Regions from separate parts of the Homo sapiens genome. Here all the other regions are linked to region 7. Evidence: promoter capture Hi-C in 16 types of primary human blood cells and fetal thymus (Javierre and others, 2016). All regions are on one chromosome and are shown on one strand. The core of a region is centred on a gene start or on the middle of the fragment in contact, and the rest is flanking DNA. Distances in the headings are between cores, read along the strand shown. Region 1 has its middle 26 kb from the start of RIMS2. Region 2 has its middle 14 kb from the start of KLF10. Region 3 overlaps RIMS2 (regulating synaptic membrane exocytosis 2). Region 4 has its middle 39 kb from the start of DCAF13. Region 5 overlaps RIMS2 (regulating synaptic membrane exocytosis 2). Region 6 holds the start of RIMS2 (regulating synaptic membrane exocytosis 2). Region 7 holds the start of LINC01181 (long intergenic non-protein coding RNA 1181).

Region 1 (2,711 bases), core at 134-2,633, 350 kb before region 7:
AAAACAACATATATGTAAATTATATATATGTGTATATATACATTACATATATAAATTATATATATGTGTATATATACATTACATATATATATGGTTTCTCTCTATATATATATAGAATCTGATCACTTTTCACCATTACTACAACTTGCACAATAGGCCCAGGCTGTTGTCAGCACTTACCTGGACCATAGCAGTAGTCTCCTGACTAGTCTACCTCCTTTCAGTCTTGTCTCCCATGGGATCTCTTCCCCATGGTGATATTTTCAAAATGTAGCCTGAATCATGTTGCTTTTCTGCTCCAAAGCCTCTAAAGCTTTCCAAAATATGCATAATACAATCTGAACTACAAAACCCTATGTGATTTGGGTCCTGACTACCACTCTCTTGGTCTCTTTCCCCACTTCAGGAACACTGGCCTTTTCTCACTCTTCCTCATATATACTGTATGAAGCTAACTTGTGTCTCAGGAACATTCATCCACGCCTGGAAGCTTCTTGCCTTGTAGAGTCATATGTCTCAGGTCTCTGTTCAATGCTACCTCCTCAGAGAAACTGTCCCTTACCGTGTTTTCTAATTAGATCACCTGCCTTTTGTCATTCTCAATATCTTTGATTCGCTTTATTTTTCTTCATGTAACTTCTCACTACCTGAATTTATATTACAGGTTGAGTATCCCTTATCTGAAATGCTTGGGACCAGAAATGTTTTGGATTTCACATTTTTTGTGGATTTTGGAATATTTGTATATACATGATGAAATATCCTGGGGGTGAAATCACTGTAAACACAAAATTTGTTTATGTTTCATATATACCTTATACACATACCCTAAAGGTAATTTTTTGTACTATTTTAAATAATTTTGTAAATGAAACAAAGTTTTTAATGAAACCTGTCACATGAGGTCAGGCATCAAATTTTCTACTTGTGGTACCATGTTGGCACTCAAAACGTTTAAGATTTTGGAGCATTTTGGATTTTGGATTTTTGGATTAAGGATGCTCAACCTGTACATATATTTCTGTTTATAGTTTTTTTAATCTCTCTCACCTACCAGAATGTAATCTTCATGACAGAAAGAGTTTTGTCTTGTGCACTGATGTATTCCCAGCATCCAAATTGGTCAGGTATATAGTATGTGCTCAATAAATATTGTTTCACTTGAAAAATGATGCAGTGTTGACTAATACAGGACTTTGGCTCCCTAGGTTTATATCATTCCATAATATTGCAAATTATGCATTATTATCATAGAAACATATGTACATTCTTGGAGGCACAATTATCAGCAAATACTGTCTCCTGGACAACCTACCTAAAGAAGTCTAGGTAATATTAGAAGATAATTGAATTAGATCATCACCAGTTGATCAATTACCTGATTTGTTTGTTCACTTGTGATCATCATTTCTGCCAAGTAACCCAGACGTAGGTCCTATTGACTTGCAGAATCACTGGGGTTAGATTTCACATCCATGGAACATCACTTGCACACTTGCTCTGTGTTATTATGGTTAGTTTTCTATCTTGGTTTCTCACAAAACGTTGAATATTGTGTGTTGTGGTAATTTCCTGTGTTCTTTTTTATTAATATTATTTTTAATTGGCAAATTATAATTGTATACATTTATGGGATACAATGCAATGTTTTGTTTTGTTTTGTTTTTTGAGATGGAGTCTTGCTCTGTTGTCCAGGCTGGAGTGCAGTGGCACAATCTCAGCTCACTGCAACCTCTGCCTCCCAGGTTCCAGCGATTCTCCTGCCTCAGCCTCCTGAGTAGCTGGGATTACAGAGCCTGCCATCATGCCCATCTTATTTTTGTATTTTTAGTAGAGATGAGGTTTCACCATGTTGGCCAGGCTGGTCTCAAAATCCTGACCTCAGGTGATCCATGTGTCTTGGCCTTCCAAAGTGCTGGGATTACAGGCTTGAGCCACTGCACCTGGCCCAGTGTTTTGATATATGCAGACAAAGTAGATTTTATTGTAGCTAAAGCTCATTAGATTAATCTAATTGACATATTCATCACTTTGCTTAACTATCATTAAGCTAATTAACATATTCATAAACTTTGCATACTTTGCTTAAAAAATACCGTTTTGTTTTGTTTTGTTTTTACTTTTATTATTAACAGTTTTATTGAGGTATAACTGACACAGAATAAAGCCTTCATTTTTAAAGTATAAAATTTGGTTAATTTTGAATTATATATATATATGCATGAAACCGTTACCAAATCAAAATAATAAACACATATATCACACTGCAAAGCTTCCTCATGCCCCTTTGTTATTTCTCCCTCTCATAAACCCAAGCGACCATAAGCAACAGGTAACCACGGTCTTCCTTCTATCACTATACACTGGTTTGCATTTCCTAGACTTTTATATAAGCAGAATCATATAGTCCACACTCTTTCCCTTTTTTTTTGGTGGGGAGGGAGGATATGTCTTCTATAACTGACAATAATTATTTTAAGATCCATCCATGATGTTGTGTTAATTGATAACTTGTTCCTTTTAGTTTTTGAATAGTATTTCATGGTATGAACATATCAAAATATGTGTATGTATTTACTTGTTGAGGGACATTGGAGTTGATTTTTTTTTCTATTAGAATAAAGCTGCTGTGGACATTGGTTTACAGATCTTTGTATCTTAGAGTAGAATGTCTGGATCATATAGTAAGTGGATATTTAACTTTTAAGAAA
Region 2 (2,829 bases), core at 323-2,822, 480 kb after region 7:
CAATCTAATGGGAAGGAAAGCACAAAGCATGAAAACATGGCCATTTGCTGAGGAAAGCTAGAGCATGAGTACTCATCATTTAATTAGAAAGCATACATTTGGGTAGAGTTACCATAGAAGCCTCCAATGTATGAACTGAGTTCGTCAATTTACTGAAATCCCTTTGTTCTCTTTATAATGATCCCAGCTTGAGGGAATTCTCCAAGTCTGAATTTAGTTCATTCATTCATGATAAAGTGCCCAATCTCAGATGCCCCATCAAGCATGGGCTAAAAATGATATAAAGTTATGCCCAGAGCTCTAGGAATTCAAAATCCCAAGGGAATGAAGATCAGCATGAGTGACAAAAACATCTCTGCCCCAAGGAAATCATCAGGCCACACCTGTGCCAGGTCTGCCCACATAATGCGGCCTCAAATTGACAGACACAGAATTCCAAGGAAGCATAACTCTCTCATCTTTGGCTTATTCTAACGGAAGGGATAAAACTAAATGGAGCCGTCTGTTGTTTTAAGCTTCCCCTGCCAGTTGGCATCCTGATCTTGACAGAGATTAGAAATTCATGGCTCTCTACCATGGATGCCAACAATCCCTGCATGACCTTGATTGACCAGCTTGGCAGCAAGATGCTGAAAGGGAGAAAATGCCCCAAAATATAAAAAGATGACACCTTATCTTTCTTTCATTTTCTTGGAAGAATTTAATTTTTAATTCTAAATTTTAATTCTAAATTGGAGGCACAGCCTGGGTTTAGAAAAATCTATATAAAATTCTGAGAAGAAAAGTTAAGAAATAACGTGAAGTGAAGAAAGGATGACCCAGGCTGTGGTAGAAGCAGTTTCCTATTTCTCTGATTAAGCTGTGTGAAGCTTGAATATCAGTTTCAAAAAGGCACCCTTTTAGTTTGCACAATCTCATTGAAAAGATAAATACAAGCACTGAGTGTTTATTACCACTAGACAAAGTAAAACAGTGTGGCCTTGTGAAAGGAAGCTTCTCCTGGGGTCATGGGGCCATCATGCTGGTGTCACTTCTATGCTGGCTACAAATGTAAGCTAAGTAAGCAATTTCACTATTTCACAGCTTTGTTTCAGTATCTATACAATGAGGTTATAACGCTCATCTAACCTGTTTCTCAAGATAGAATTAGGCTTGAAAACTCTGTGTGTGTGTGTGTCGGGGGGGTGTTGGCAGTGGAGGGAGGGGGTTCAAACATTAAGAGGGCTGCCCAAATATCAATGGTGGGTATTGCACTGTCACAACTCAGATCAATTATTAAGACAGAAAAGGCCCCTATAGGTGGGGCAGCATCCGACATCAGTATAGAAATTGTCATGTTGTGGTCCCTGTTAGGGAGGAAGGTCAAATTCCAAATGTTCACAAAATTGGGATGAAGCAATGAAGCAGCTCATTTCCAAGATGGCACCCAATAATTTTTGCTCTTGGATATTCATGTCCTCATGTAGTGTCTGCTCATTTTGACTAGAGTTGATCTATATAACCAGTAGGATGGTGTAGAAACGATGGTGTGTAATTTCCAAGACTCCTCATAAAAGATATTATTGTTTCCAGCATGATCCGTCTTGGATCACTCACTCTGAGGGAAGCCAGTTGTCATGTTGTGAGGATGCACAAGCAGGTCTATGCGGAGGTCTACATGCTGAGAACTACACCTTTTGCCAACAGCTAGCACCACGATGCCAACCAAGTGAGAGAGCTACTTGGAAGTAGATCTTCCAGCCTCAATCAAGCCTTCAGATGACGGCAACCCTAGCTGATATCTTGACTGTAACCTCTGACAACCCTGAGCCAGAACAATGTAGCTAAGCCATCCCCGATTCTTGACCTACAGAAACTGTGATAGATAACAAATGTATATAATTATCTTAAGCCACTACATTTTGGGATAATTTGCTAACACAGACTTAGCAATGGATATTAAAAGCAGTGAAGTATTTCTACAGAGTAGGCAGTAAGACCCCAAAGCCCTGAAATAAAGACAATGTTCAGTTTAGTCCAGTTTCCATGCTGACTTTAGCTCTTTAATTGGACAATATATTTTGGGAAGTGGCAAGACAGAGGAACAATGAACATATAGATTCCAGAGATTTCTACGAATTGGGACAATAGTATTGAAACTTCTAAGCTTTGATTACCTTTTTTTAAAATAGAAGAGTGTCTGGTATACTGGTTGTATTAGTTTGCTAGGGCTGCCATAACAAAGAACCGCTGACTGGGTAGGTTAAACAACAGAAATTTATTTCCTCACACTTCCAGAGGCTAGAAGGCCGAGATCAAGATGTCAGCAGGATTGGTTTCTCCTGAGGCCTCTCTCCTTGCCTTGTGGGTGGCCATCTTCTCCCTGTGTCTTCACATGATTTTCCTCCTGTGTCTGTGCCCTGATCTCTTCTTTTAACAATACCAGTCATATTGAATTAGAGCCTGTTCCAGTGAACTCATTTACCCTTAGTTAACTCTTTTGAATCCTATTTCTAAATACAGTCGCATTCTGAGGTACTGGGGTTAGGACTTTAACATATGAATTTTGGGAAGGATCATAGCATTGGTCAACATGTCAGTCTATATTATTCCATCATAATACACCAATAGCAGTATTTTTTTCCTTCCTTTCCTTCCTTCCTTCCTCCCTCCCTCCTTCCCTTCCTCCCTTCCTCCCTTCCCTCTTTCCTCCCTCCCTCCCTTCCTCCCTTCCTCCCTTCCCTCTTTCCTCCCTCCCTCCCTTCCTCCCTTCCCTCTTTCCTCCCTCCCTCCCTTCTCTCCTTCCTCTTTCCTTCTCTCCCTCCCTCCCTTCCTTCCTCCCTCCCTTCT
Region 3 (2,700 bases), core at 136-2,635, 400 kb before region 7:
CCCAAGACAATTCCTCTTCTTCCATTGTGGCCCAGGGAAGCCAAAAGATTGGACACATGGGAGTTATAGCATAAATTATTTATACAGTCATTCTAATAACTTACAAATCATTTTTTGAATTTTATAAAGTGTCAATCTCTTAACAGAGCCATGGTTGGATATTTAGAACAATATTAGACTTCTCCTGACACATTCATAATTAAAATGAGAGTCATTAGGTCCCTGATACCCACCATTTTGCTACAACTTTAAAACAAACTGGGCAGGCTGCCTGCATGTCATAGTCACATAAACATCTAGATTGAGCCTGTCCAACCCGCGGGCCAAGGGCAGCTTTGAATGTGGCCCAACATAAATTTGTAAACCTTAAAATATGATGAGATTTTTTTGCAATTTTTTTTTTTTAGCTCATCAGCTATCATATTCGTGCATTTTATGTGTGGCCCAAGACAATTCTTCTTCTTCCAGTGTGGCCTAGGGAAGCCAAAAGATTGGATACCCCAGATCTAGCTGTTAGTGTTTTCCACAGAGACTGAAAGCACTGTGCCTCAGGACACTCCCTGCAAAATGCAGTTACCACGAAAACCACTTGCACTGCAGCCTTCCATTGCCTCCACCAACAACAGGGCACAGGGGTATCAGGTAGGCACTGACACTACAGGCAGTACATGCCTTCCAAGGACCATGTTAATACATACCAGCAAGGTTACTAGGTTTCATAATTCTATAAGACTGCACTAGACAACATCATTAGATAATTTATTCTCTCAATAATATTTAGTAGTATGCATCAAAGTGATTCAGTTTTTAAAAATTAGTGTCTCTGTACTGGTGCAGGTCAATTGAATATCAGTCCTGCATATGATGCCCTTTGTAACTGACTCTCACCAACTAGCTTCACCTTCCACCACTCCATCCCTTCTTTCCATCTTCCATGCACCTAGCAATATAGGAATACTGGCTATTCCCCAAAGACACCATGCACTATGCTTTTCACAGTCCGTGTCTAAATGCTTTTCACAGCATATGTCTAAAATGCCCTTCTTCTCCACATACTTTTTCCTGCAAGGCCAGTTTGAATGTGATCTTTGGTTATAAAGACTTCCTTAAATCCTCCATGTTCGTATACTAGCCCCTTCCTCTGTTCAACACTTGGTATATAACTACTTTAAGGCACTTATCATGCATTTGGATTATTTATTTACATGACTCTTTACCACTAAATTATAAGCACCTCAAGGGCAGAGACTGTGTCCTATTCCTCTCTGTTTCCTAAATTAGTACAGTGGCTGGTATAGAACAGATGCTCAAAATGCATTTGTTTAAAGGAAGAACAAATAAATACTTAAATCAAAAACAATCATTATCTTTGATTCCCTATACTGTATTGCTGGAAATTTTTAGATGCAGACTTAAACATGTATAAGGGGATATCCATTTTTTAAATTCTTTTAGAGAGTAGAGTGTATATGGCTTTGTAGAAGCAGCGCCATGTAGTACCTCTCCCCGACCTTCCCATTGGATCATCTCAGGTAGTCCAATTATTACTTTTGTCCCAATTGGGTTATTATTACTGAAGTTCTTTGTCTAATATACACATGTAAAACATTTATTTTTAATTTTCCCTTGTTTCTACATTTTTCCAGCACATAAAGTATGTAGGAATACTACATTGCAACAATAGCAACATCTAGTATTAGATGTCCCACATAGGATATAAATTATTTTGTCAATCTTTTTATTGTTTGTATTTCCTTCTTTTCTTCCATCTTTCATTCTGGCCCTCTTTATTTCTTTCTTATTGGCTTTTAATGTTAACAATTACCAAGAGAGTCATTCGTGACAGAATTTCATAGTGGATTGTTTTAATTTTAGAAATAAAAAATAATGTAACATAATTTAATTAAATAAGTTCAGTAAAGGGACTGCAGACTTTTTTGAAAATATAAGTATGAGTACAAGTATGAAATTTTTGAAATTTTAGTTATTGAAGTAAATAATTATTTCAGCAATATAATACATTTCTCAAATTTTGGTTCCTGTACTCCTATAATTCTTCTCTTTCTCAAACTAAATGTCCTATTTGTATAAAGAAGTTAGCACATAAAGCTATGGGGCCAATAAACAATGCCTGCACCTTGCCACAAAGCAAGATTTTAACTTTTTAAAATGTCTGCAAGTTTAAAATAACAAAGCATAATACAGAACCTCTCATTTAGAAGTCTACATAGAAACTGCCAACTGCCAACACTATATTTGAAATCGATGAACCAAAAAGAAAAAAAGACAAAGAACATGTGTCACTTTCAATGATATTAGTAAGTGTATAGATGGCACATGAGAGGATATAGAGACAACACTAATCAAAATTACTAACTAAAGTTTTCACTGCAGATTAATGAATCTATAGTCAGCAAACAGTATTAAGTTAATAACTGACACTATAGCCACTAAAGAGGAAAAACTAAAAAGATATTTGTCCTGCAAAGATGTACCAAAAACAAAATATATTCAAATTGGTAAATTAAGATTTTGAAACACTAATATTTATAAAATATTATAGAAATATTGTATAAATTTGCGATGACAAGTAGAAAAGTTCTATAATCAGAGTTCATTCTGAAAAATCTGAAATTCAAGTAATATTTTATTTCCAGAGCTCTTGAATATAAATTTTGCCTTTAGATATGAATTCCACAT
Region 4 (2,700 bases), core at 64-2,563, 330 kb before region 7:
TCGACAGTGTTACTCATTAAGGAAATGCAAGTCAAAACAACAATGAGATGCAACTTTATATTTACTTGGATGGCTATCATTTTCTTTAAAAAGCAAAATAAGCATTGGTAAGGATGTGAACAAATTGGAACACTTGTACGTTGCTAGGGGTATGTAAAATGGTGCAGCTGCTACAGCATTTACATACAACAAACAGTATGGTTGTTCCTCAAAAGGCTAAACATAAAATCGCCCTATGACCCAGCAATTCTATTCCTGGGTATATAGACAAAAAAATTTAAAATAAGTACTCAAATTCTTGTACACGAATGTCTACAGCAGCACTTAGTCACAATGGCTCAAAGGTGAAAACCACATAGATGTCCGTGAATGAAAGAATGGATAAACAAAATGTGGTATATGAACACAATGGAATATTATTCAGCCATAAAAAGAAACGAAGTACTGATATATGCTATGACATGGATGAACCTCGAAAACAGTATGCTAAGTAGAAGCCAAACACAAAAGTTCACATATATGATTCCATTTTGTTGAGATATCCACAATATGTAAATCCATAGAGACAGAAAGCAGATTAGTGATTGCGTCAGGCTGGAAGGAGAGAATAATTTTGAGTGACTGGGTTTTTTTTTTCTTTTCTTTTTTTTTTTTTTTTGTAGAGATGGAGTCTCACTCTGTCGCCCAGGCTGGAGTGCTGGAGTGCTGGAGTGCTGGAGTGCTGGAGTGCAGTGGTGCGATCTCGGCTCACTGCAACCTCCGCCTCCCGAGTTCAAGCAATTCTCCTACCTCAGCCACCCGAGCAGCTGGGACTACAGGCGCACGCCACTATGCCCGGCTAATTTCTTTTGTATTTTAGTAGAGACGGGGTTTCACCATGTTGCCCAGGCTGGTCTTGAACTCCCAAGCTCAGGCAATCCACACGCCTTGGCCTCCCAAAGTGCTAGGGTTACAGGCGTGAGCCACCACACTTGGCCAATATGTACAGGGTTTTCTTTTTGGGTGATGAAAATGTTTTGGAACTTGATAAGTTAGTGGTTGTAGAACATTGTGAATATATGAAATGTCACTGAATTGTATACTTTAAACTGGACAATTTTATGTTACGTGAATTTAACCTCAATTTAAAACAAAAAGCAGTTGGCGGTTGTTATTGAATGATCTGATGTGGAAATTTGAAGCCAGAATCAGCGAACAATTGATGGAGAATTGGTTCAGAACAGGTGGCATTAACGAACTAGACTGGCTATCTGAAGTGACTGTGAGATCATGGGGAACTTGATAGTGTCAGATGACAAAGCTGATAGATACATGGCATTGCAGCTGATAGCTTAGAAACTATAGAAGTACATCTACTATTCTGTGGAGTACTTATTAGGACCAGACAAAGTCCACAAAAAAGGTGCTTTGGAAGAGTTGTACCTCATTCTACTAAAAACAGAGGAGCCTGTCAAGAGAGCGAGTTCTATTTTGTATCTATTCAATACAAAATCGAGGTAGAAGAATTAAGAATCCTTACAGAGAGGATGTACTTTCCGCTTTATAGAAGTCAGTTTCATTACCTTCCAAAGAAAATGCCTTGATATGATAAGCCACCTGAACCCTGCCCCTTCATGGTCTGTAAACGGCCTCATTTCCAAACTGGTTAAAAGTTATTATCACCCAGAGGATGATTACTGAATTGTGTTACTTGCACATCTTGATGATGAACTACTGTTTGCATAATACCAAACTATCACTTCTTTTTCATTCTTTCGAAAGGTCCAGCTTACTTACTGAATCAAAGAAAAGTTATAATGATTATTACAGATAGAACAGTCTCACCTAAAATAGATAAGAAATGAAATGGAAAGTATTCACTTACCCTTTGGAGTGGGGGGTGGCTTTTAGACTGAAACTTAAAAACAAGTCTTGTCATTAGGATGTTTTCTTGGTTGTTAAGTATTCAGAAAATCAAACTAACACTGGCTTAAGCTGAAAGTAATTTATTTGTCTCTTATAATTAGAAGACAGGAGACAGCAGGTTGGATCTCCTGGTGAATGATGTCCTAAAAGACCCTGGCCTTTTCTATTTTTTCATTCCACCATCCTTCACCTTATTCTTTTGGACTCATGGTCACAATATGGTCACCACAGTAACAGGTATCAGGTTCACATTTAAAGCATAAAGAAGTGGAGGGGGAAGAGGTAGCACCAACAACATCTGTTCCTTTATTAAGAAAGAAATGCTTTCCTAGAAAAAGAAACCTCACAGTAGACTTCTGCTTATGCCACATTGGCCAGAACAGGTTCACATGGCCACCCCTAGGTGCAAGGGAGGTAGAAAAAAAATACTCAGCATTTTCAGCCTCTCTAGTGGAGGACTGCAGACAGAGAAGAGGGCTGGGAATGGGGTTTAGGCTAGCCAGCTTTCACTATTTCCCACACTCTTCCTTGTACAAATGTAAAAGAGATTCTTAGACGAAGAAATAAAATAACTGATTTTAGGCCTAATGAACAAGAACATGAACAATGTTGTGATTTTTATTTCAGCTGTCAACCTAGGAAGTATGTAGTGGCTTAAGTTTCACTACATCACAGGAAAAAAGAAAACTGACATTCTACCCTTAATGATTTGTGGCCTTACTTTTCAGGTCCTAAAAGATCTTGATGTATATTGATCTATTTGGTTTTACTACATTTAAGAGAAAGACACTGCAG
Region 5 (2,700 bases), core at 42-2,541, 410 kb before region 7:
AAGGTGAGGAAGCAGAACAGATGGCCAAAGTACACCACTGGCTCCTGGAGTCTAGCCAAAAGCTAACGTTGAATTCTGGCAAAGCTCTGCGGGCATTCAAATCAGTTCTTCTAGCTGTAATCGACTCAATAATGGGGCTACACATTACAGTATTAAAATCCTGTAGATATACTTGAGCCTGATCTGCCACCTATGGAATGAATAATCACATTTCTGAGCAAGGTTCCTGGTAGTTTCTAATATCAGAGTCAAAAGTCTAGGTAGAGAGAAGGCTTTTCTAGCAGTATAGCTCATTGCCAAACTATGTAGAAATAATTAAGGGCAATCGATAGGCTGCATAGCAAGAGAAGAGGAAGCATTTATACTCCTCCTCCAAACTTACTCTACTTCTGCTAGCATAACCTCTGCTACAGCTAATGCTTACATGACTAGGATAAAATTTCACAAAGAGAAAGTTCTGACATTCAGAGCTGATGATAAAGGTAGTTGTTGAAATTAACCATATATAAGTACATTCTAAAGTCGTAAATAACAATTTATATTCAAAGGCAAAAAAACATTCTTTTAGCCAGAAAGAGGCAACAGTAAACTGGATATTTTCAAGCTAAAGAGAAATAAATTTCTCTTGTTCATTCAAAGAAGAAAATCAATACAATGTAAAGATTTCAAATAAGTCTCAACTGGTATTTTTTACTGGCCTAAATCAAGGGTTGGCAAGCTTTTTTTCCTGTAAAGTGCCAGACAGTAAATAAGGCTTTGTAAGTCAAAAGGCAAAATTAAGGATAATGTGTAGTGCTAACAGAACAATAAAAAACAAATTTCTACAAAACCCTTATTGATAAAATTCAAATAATTGAATGTAATAATACAGGTCTACTGATGAGAATAATGGAATTCTCTTTGGGGGGAAAATATTTCACTCAATTGGGATTCAAAGTTAGTATTCCAAATGATCCAAATCAATTGCAAATGTCCTGTTGTTAATGCTGATCTGTAATATGATTTTATGTATTTCATTTTAGTAATATATTTTTGCACAGATAGGAAATACAAATACGTACTGATATCAAACAATGAGAATGTTTTTAATTGATGATATTCATCACTTAGAGGATACTTATAGAATTGAGTTTGAGACTTCTCTAGACATTTGCCTTTTAGCATGTTATACATCATACATTGCAGATGAAAGTTGGATATTAACTCTTCAATTACACAGTTAAATAAATTTTGAAATATGTATATGTCTTTTGTACTTGCTTCAAAGTCTGAAAAATTAGGTTGATACTATAGTCTGAGCTTGGAAAATATATCAACTGAAAATCTGTGTGGGAATGAGGAGCTCACTACTTAACTATTGACAGCATAGGAAGCATATAAAGTAGCTTGAAATTATTTGTGATAAACATTGTCATTGAAATGACTTTAAGTTCCATGGTAGAACTTATAAATTCCATATGTAAGCACAGTTTTACCTTATATGTGGAGCTTCTAAGTTGAACACAGAAATTTATCAATTTTGCAGCAAAAGCAAATTTCCAAAGCCATCCAGTGTTCAATAACAGGGCTTAGTGTATTTTTCAGAAACAGTTCAACGTCAGCCTTGAGCTCAAAAAATTGAAATAAAATTTTATGACTGCTAGACCATCACACTTCTATTTGATAGAATGAGTCATAATATTCAATTTCTGACAAAAATGCACAGAAGTCATGATGGTTACATCTACAAGAAGGAACGAAGTTCACTGTTGACACTAGTGACTCAGTAACACATGATGATTCAAATATTTTCTGCAGAATATCTACTCATAAATAACACAATGAATAACCATAAGCTCTAAACACCTTAATTTTTACAAGCTTTGAAAAGTTGTCCAACTAAGACTTTTTCTACTCCATACATTATTTTTATCTTTTATCAGGTTTTTTTCTTTTTCTTTTTTTTTTTTTTTTTTTTTGAGACAGGGTCTCGCTTTGTCCCCCAGGCTGGAGTGCAGTGGCATGATCTCAGCTCACTGCAACCTCTGCCTCCTAGGTTCAAGCAATTCTCCTGCCTCAGCCTCCCATGTTTTATCAGTTTTTAACACATCTTAGCAGATTCCACTTCAGGTTGTACTAAATTAATGTTTTCTCAAATTATTTGAAAATGTTCTTGCCACTAATTGTTCCACACTGACTATTCAGAGGCTTATTAAAACTCAATACTAACTCCTAAAATAAAAAACAACAGAAAAGTATTGATAACATTTGTCAATTCACCAAGAGTCAAGGAAAACCACTCAAAAATCACTTGTTGTGTTTTGTAACTGACTAGAAATGCTGCTCCCAATACCCTCAACTCTTTGAGAAACTGTTCCCACCAAAAGGCTTAATGTTTATTTTCTCTAGATACATTTTTTCAGTTCCTGCAATCAAATATGATTTAATTAACTAACCATATCTTAAATGGATTTATTTGCTTGGCTAACAAGAGAACCACTTAGAAACTTACTTTTTGGTCACAGCCTTATTTTCATTTATTACTTTCGTAAAGAAAATCAGCTTATATTCCACTTTAATATTCTAATTTTCCCTACTTGAGAATATTGTGATCAATGCTTAGTCTGGTAATGTCAACATATATTATATTCCTTTAGTATAACTACAGCACTAATACATAATAAACCCAGTGCTTTGTCATCTAACTTAGCAACTCATACT
Region 6 (2,738 bases), core at 133-2,632, 380 kb before region 7:
CTTGTAGAAACAAATCTCTTTGCTACGCTAACCAGAAAAGTAGTCTCAGAGCTAAAGATAACCCTGTCTGGACAGTTCCCTGGTGCTGAAGTTCCAGAGCCGGTAAACGCATGCCTGGGTGCTGCTTTCACTCCTACCACCCTCAGAAAAACCCGGCCTGCCAAGACCGTGAGCAAGAATAGTAGAACTTCACAAGGTAGGGAGCATCCCAAACTGCAGTGATGGTAGGAACTGGAGTCTCTTCAGGATTAAACAGATTTACTAGTTGCAAACAGGAAGAGCAGCAGAGTGCAGGGTGTTAGCACTCGCCGAGGGGGAGGGGCTGGAAGATGGCGGCGGACGCACACCCACCCGACCGCGACAGAGCTTAGGCCCCTAGCCCGCGCCGCCGCCCGCTGCTCGCAGCCACTGTGGGCAGCCCTGCTCTGTCCCGCGTTGCTGGTAGAGCCGCCCCGCGGAGGCGTGGGACCAGGGTGGCGTCCGCATCCCCTGCCAGCGCGCCTTCGCCCGGGTCCGTCCAGGGAGCACCTGTGCACGGCCATATTGGATTCTGTGCCCCAGTCACTGCCTCAGCGCGGCGGGAAAGGAGAGGGTACGCACAGAGCCTGGGTTCAGCCCCAGTCCCGCTGGGGCCCCGGAGCCAAGATGACCAGCGAGGAAATCCGGAAAGGCGCCAAGGAAAATCACACCGCCTAAGGCTCGCCACCCTCACCTCAGCCGGCCTTGGCGCCCTCCCTCCCCGACACACACCCCTGCTCTCAGACACCCCTAAAACAGCCCGGGCGGCCGGCGCTGGCCGCAGCCCTCGTGGCCTGGGCGCCGCCAGCGGGAGGGAGGGCGGCGAACTGGGGCGCGCAGGCGGCCGCAGGGCAGTGGGCGAGGGGGCGGAGGGCAGGGAGAGAGGCGGGAATATGGAGCCAGGTCCTTACTTGAGCACGGACTGCTCCTTCTCCTCTTCTTTCTTCTGCCTATCCATGACGGCCAGGATGATTTTCCTCTCCTCCTCCGTGAGGTGGCTGAGGTCAGGCATCTCGGGCTGCAGAGGCGGCTGAGAGGCCGCCGGGATGGGAGCCAGGCGGCCCCGGGGCCCGACAGGAGCCGACATGTTTGGTGGAGCCGAACCACCCTAGGGAAGCGGGGAGGCAACTCCACTGGCAGCGGCGGCACCGGCGCGGCGGCTGGGGCAGCCTCCAGCGCTGGGACAAATACATACAAATCAATGGCCTTCAATCCAAGGCGACAGCCCCCCTCCCCCAAGAAAAGCAGGGGGAGGGGAGGGCGAGCGCGTGGGGAAGGAGGGCTGAGGAGTGCGCTTCGGGAAATGTTTCTTCTTCCCGGGGGCGAAGGGCTGTGAAGTGAGCGGTTCAAGGGAAAGGGGAACTGGAGGCCGGGACGCGGAGTGCGCGGAGAGGCGGGGGAGGGTGGTGGAGTAAGGTGGCGGGGACAGCTAAGGGTGGGGTGACTGGAGGGAGCAGGCGGGAGGGCGACAGGCGGACCGGGGCGCGAGTGTGTCCGGCCGCGGTCAGGGCCGGGAGCGCGCGCGCCGCCTCGGAGGGGAAGGGGTGCCTGCGAACAAGCCCCCGGGGAACTCGCTTCGAGCGCCCGGAGGCGGAGTACTGCCGGCCCGAGGGGCACCCAGGCGGGAGCCGAGAGGGTCGTGAGGAAGCGAGGACGGTTTCCCGGAGAAGCAACTCATCCGTCCCGCCGGCTGACGCATCACAGGGCTCCCGCGCGCCACAGAGGGAGAACTCCTCCAGGCACACCCGGGAGCGGGCCGCGGGGCCGGAAACCCCCGCGGAGACCCCAACCCCACCCACCCCACCCCCGGCTAGAGTGGAGAAGCGAAAGCGGAGAAGATATGACGGGGGCTAGCGGCGGAGAGTCCCGGGGCCAGGGCCCTTCGGCTGCCAACGCCCGGATCCAGGCGAGCTCCGACGTGCAGCGGGGTCTGGCGCCGGCCCCTCCTCATCACGCGCCCGGCCCAGGGTCGCTCAGCCGCCGCCACCGCCGCCGCCCCTTGGGTCGATGGAGTCGGCGCGGAAGGCCCGCGCGCCCTGCGCCGCCGCCGCTCAGTGCCGCCGCCAGCACCTCCTCCGCCCCTCCGCCTCCCGGGCTCATCCCGCGGGGGCGGCGTCACCTCCTCGCTGCCCAGGCCCGGGCACCGCGGGCGCCCCGCGGGCGGCAGCCGCCCCTCCCGAGCGCGATCTCCAGGCTGGGTCCGGGGCCGGGCGGGGAGGGAGGAGAGACTGAGCGTGAAGGGAGAGGGCGCCCGAGTTTTCGGGGACGGAAGTGTGGAGAATAGGAGCGTGTGAGGGGGCGCCCGAGGTGTCGGGGGCGGGGGAAGAGTATGAGCAGGGGTGGGGGCAGGGGTGCCAGGTGTAGCAGGTAGGGAGGTAGAGGCGGCGAGTGGGGGCGCCCGAGGGACCGGGGCGGGGCGGGGAGCGTAAGGGTGGCAAGGCGCCCGAGAGTCAGGGCTGGAGCTGAAGGTGGGTGACAGGGAGGGGGCGCCCAGGTGTCAGGACCTGAGGAGAAAGAGTGCGCGTAGCGGGAGGGCCCCGAAGTGTCGGGGCGGGATCCTGGAAGGAGGGAGAACGTGAGGAGGGAGGAAGGGTCCCTGGGGTGTCAGGGATGGGGGCCAGGAAAGGGGCAGAGAGCTGGAGGCCCACAAGTGGGGATAGCGGGGGAGGGAGGTTGGAGCGAGTGGGGAACGCAGGTGGTGTCGAGGGCGGGGACAGGGC
Region 7 (2,784 bases), core at 83-2,582:
CAGTCTAGGGGGAAAAAATGACCACATGGAACCACTTATAAGGCTCTCTAGCTTAAAAAAAAAAATTATACACCTTAGCTCACCAAAGTCTCCAGGAAGTAGACATTATCAGCAGCATTCCCATTTGACGAATGAGAAGACAAGCTTACAGAGGTTACCTGAATTGCGAGGATCACACAGCTAGTCAGCAAGGGAGCTGAGACTCAAACCTGCGTCTTCAGATTCTGGTTTGCGCCTCCTTCTGACTGCACAGCCCTGCAGGCTCCAGAACATCTCCCTTGCCGGCTCTGCTTCCTTTCCTCAGCTGTTGAATGGTGATGCTCCCAAGGCCGTCCGTTAGGGCCTGCATTTCTCTCCCTCTCCACACTCTCTCTGGTTGTTCTCATTTACCTCCTTGCCTTGGCCTAATATCAAAAAGTCAGTGGCCCCTAGAACTCTCTCCAGCCCAGATCTTTCTCCTGAGTTCCATACCTATATATCTAATGCCTTACTGGACACCTCCACATGGCTGTCCAAGCCACCTCAAGTGCAGTGTTTCTGAAATGAAACTCATCTTTCTCTGTAAACTGCTTCTCCTTCTGTGTTCTCTGAGTAGCAGTGACTTCACTTCTGAAGCACAGACTATGTGTTAGTTATTTCACACATGCAAGAGCGGGGTATCATCGTCCCATTTTACAAAAGATAAAAGTAAGGCTTGGAGACGTTAACTTGCTTGCACAAGGCCATAGTACCAAGTCGTTGACAGAGCCAGAGTTCAAATCAAACTCTATTCTGCATTTCTCTCACTGGCACAGGCTGCCTGGAAACCATGGGGCCTCAGCTCTTCACTCTGTTGCACGAACCAGAAGTCATGGTTCATTCTTGACTCCTCCAACCCTCCCCACCCTCTTCCCACCCTCACCCACCCCAGCTTCTCACCCCCACAGCTGCCTCAGAGCTGAGTCAATCAGTTCTACCACCTAAATGCTTCGCAAGCTGTGCCTTCTCTCCATTCCTATTGTCACTTCCTTGGTTTAGCCCCTAAATTATGTCTCCCTCATTACCTGAAATAACTTCCTAACTAGTTTCTTTGTCTCTAGTAACAACCCCGCTTCAAGTCCTCTCTCCCTGTGAATGAGCTTTCTAAAATATACCCAATCATTGCATTCACCTGGTTAAGACCTCCAAAAGCTTCCACTACCTCCAGGATAAATCCCAAATTCCTGTTTCTGCTGATGCCTGTATATGCAGGTGATCCCTTGCTGGGTCTCTGAAATGGGTTCATCTCTTCAAGGTTTTTACTGAGACGATATAGTCCTCTTGTTGCACATTGCACTGATCCAGGCCATCTGTACTGTATTCCAATGAGCTACAGAAAAATGCTTGCGTGAGAGCCTTTCATATGCAAAAATAAAGACTGAATTATGCCATAACTATTGATAAGTCTACAGTAATCCATCATGCAATTGTTTACCCAATAGATTGTGTTTATATTGTCTTTGGTACCATGTAATTTGTAAATTTTCATGACAGTGTAACCAGTTAGGCCTAGGGTGGCAGGACTTAAGTGTTGCTGAATCATTTATTACTCCACACCTCATTGAAAAGTGCTTCATAAACTTTCTGAAACTGTTCAACAGACAGAGGGTAATTTGTGCTCTGCCAACAAAGGATTCTGTTGTTGAGTGCCTATCAGCATATTAAAGGTTCAGAGAAAACCAGCAATGCAGAAACTAGAGCAATTTTGTTCTCAGAAGATAGTTTTCTTCTGCACATCCATTCGTTAACATATTCTAAAAGAGTCTGCCCTCAACAGGAGTTTGGGGAAGCACTGGGATAGAGTGCAGAGGCCCTGAGGCTTCTGGAGTTTATCTGACTCTGACATCAGGATGCAAGCACAGACCTGCCACTCTCTCAGGAACATCTTTCGTTAACTCCCGTTTGTCTTTCAAGATTCAGTTCAGATGGCATTTCCTCCTAGTGCTCTTCCTCCCTCTCTGTCTGTCACACACTCACAGGTGCATATGCACCCACACATTTGTGACATGTATAATAATTGCATGGGATTTCCTAACACCCTCTTTCATAATACCTGTCTGTATTTTCTATTGGTTGATAGAAAATTCAGCCCAGACGGATGAGAGCCAACAGGAAATTTATAGGCATTGGAGGCACGCTGCTGCAGCAGCTCCAGCCTCACCCATCCCCACCCTGTCCCAGGTCCAAGTTCAGCAGGAAAGCAGGATTGTCTCATAGGTTTTGTGCCCTGCCTGAGGAAATTCCCCAGATTGTGAATCCCCAAAGGTAGACCAGGGTCTCTTATCCCATATCCAGCCCTTAGCACCTTCCTTGGCATGCCTTGTTTTCAACAAATAACAAATGGGGACACAAAATGTTCAAAGCAAGACTTCTACCTCGAAGGAGTTTATAGTCTAGTTCAAGAGTCACTATGTATAAACAGAATAGAAATACAATAGACCATACAAGGTAACATAAATGCCAAATGAGTGACTTGGGTATTAAGTATCAAAGGAATTCAAAGAAGGGACAGTTTTGGGAGTTGATAAATAAGACATAGATCCTGAACTAGAGAAACTGTTTCTAGTAGGAAAGAAAGGTATGTTACACAGAAAATGCCAATACAGACTGATAAGTATGGGGGCAGAGTGTTCATTACCATGTTCTGTTGGTTCTAGAAAGCTTTTCTTTTTCACTAAATGATTCAAATAATAGCAGCCTTATTTTTCTTGGTCTTATTTACTTTATTTTACTAATAAATTTTTCAAGATGAGAATAGGGGATTTC

The links. Contacts are between HindIII fragments. The CHiCAGO score rates a contact against its expected background, and 5 or more counts as called.
Region 1: a fragment that was not itself captured here is called in contact with the fragment with the promoter of LINC01181 in region 7 in 1 of 17 cell types (endothelial precursors); the score reaches 6.0 in endothelial precursors.
Region 2: a fragment that was not itself captured here is called in contact with the fragment with the promoter of LINC01181 in region 7 in 1 of 17 cell types (neutrophils); the score reaches 5.4 in neutrophils.
Region 3: a contact is called between a fragment that was not itself captured here and the fragment with the promoter of LINC01181 in region 7, in 13 of 17 cell types (megakaryocytes, naive CD4 T cells, endothelial precursors and 10 more). The highest score is 18.3, in megakaryocytes.
Region 4: a fragment that was not itself captured here is called in contact with the fragment with the promoter of LINC01181 in region 7 in 3 of 17 cell types (endothelial precursors, megakaryocytes and M2 macrophages); the score reaches 6.8 in endothelial precursors.
Region 5: a contact is called between a fragment that was not itself captured here and the fragment with the promoter of LINC01181 in region 7, in 7 of 17 cell types (total CD8 T cells, total CD4 T cells, activated CD4 T cells and 4 more). The highest score is 8.3, in total CD8 T cells.
Region 6: a contact is called between the fragment with the promoter of RIMS2 here and the fragment with the promoter of LINC01181 in region 7, in 17 of 17 cell types (total CD4 T cells, activated CD4 T cells, erythroblasts and 14 more). The highest score is 29.8, in total CD4 T cells.

Annotation. Positions count from the first base shown.
Region 1 is chr8:103,473,374-103,476,084 of GRCh38, reverse strand. No RefSeq gene overlaps it. Among named protein-coding and RNA genes, the nearest start is that of RIMS2, 26 kb to the left of the region's middle. The HindIII fragment of the contact is 1,782 bases long and covers 493-2,274 here.
Region 2 is chr8:102,640,537-102,643,365 of GRCh38, reverse strand. No RefSeq gene overlaps it. Among named protein-coding and RNA genes, the nearest start is that of KLF10, 14 kb to the left of the region's middle. The HindIII fragment of the contact is 1,153 bases long and covers 996-2,148 here.
Region 3 is chr8:103,515,627-103,518,326 of GRCh38, reverse strand. All of the region lies in intron 1 of RIMS2 (regulating synaptic membrane exocytosis 2), which reads right to left. Among named protein-coding and RNA genes, the nearest start is that of RIMS2, 16 kb to the right of the region's middle. The HindIII fragment of the contact is 2,914 bases long and covers 1-2,700 here.
Region 4 is chr8:103,453,366-103,456,065 of GRCh38, reverse strand. No RefSeq gene overlaps it. Among named protein-coding and RNA genes, the nearest start is that of DCAF13, 39 kb to the right of the region's middle. The HindIII fragment of the contact is 3,690 bases long and covers 1-2,700 here.
Region 5 is chr8:103,532,920-103,535,619 of GRCh38, reverse strand. The region is part of intron 1 of RIMS2 (regulating synaptic membrane exocytosis 2); the gene reads right to left. Among named protein-coding and RNA genes, the nearest start is that of RIMS2, 34 kb to the right of the region's middle. The HindIII fragment of the contact is 1,142 bases long and covers 721-1,862 here.
Region 6 is chr8:103,499,254-103,501,991 of GRCh38, reverse strand. RIMS2 (regulating synaptic membrane exocytosis 2) reads right to left here and starts at 1,382. Exons shown (of 30, transcript NM_001348484.3): 1 at 930-1,382. The coding sequence starts at 1,105. It overlaps LOC105375690 (a long non-coding RNA gene), which reads left to right and starts at 82. Exons shown (of 5, transcript NR_145698.1): 1 at 82-196. RefSeq lists a silencer at 1-271. The HindIII fragment of the contact is 4,153 bases long and covers 1-2,738 here.
Region 7 is chr8:103,119,580-103,122,363 of GRCh38, reverse strand. It overlaps LINC01181 (long intergenic non-protein coding RNA 1181), which reads right to left and starts at 1,332. Exons shown (of 6, transcript NR_145429.1): 1 at 1,151-1,332. RefSeq lists an enhancer at 1-295. The HindIII fragment of the contact is 1,509 bases long and covers 1,173-2,681 here.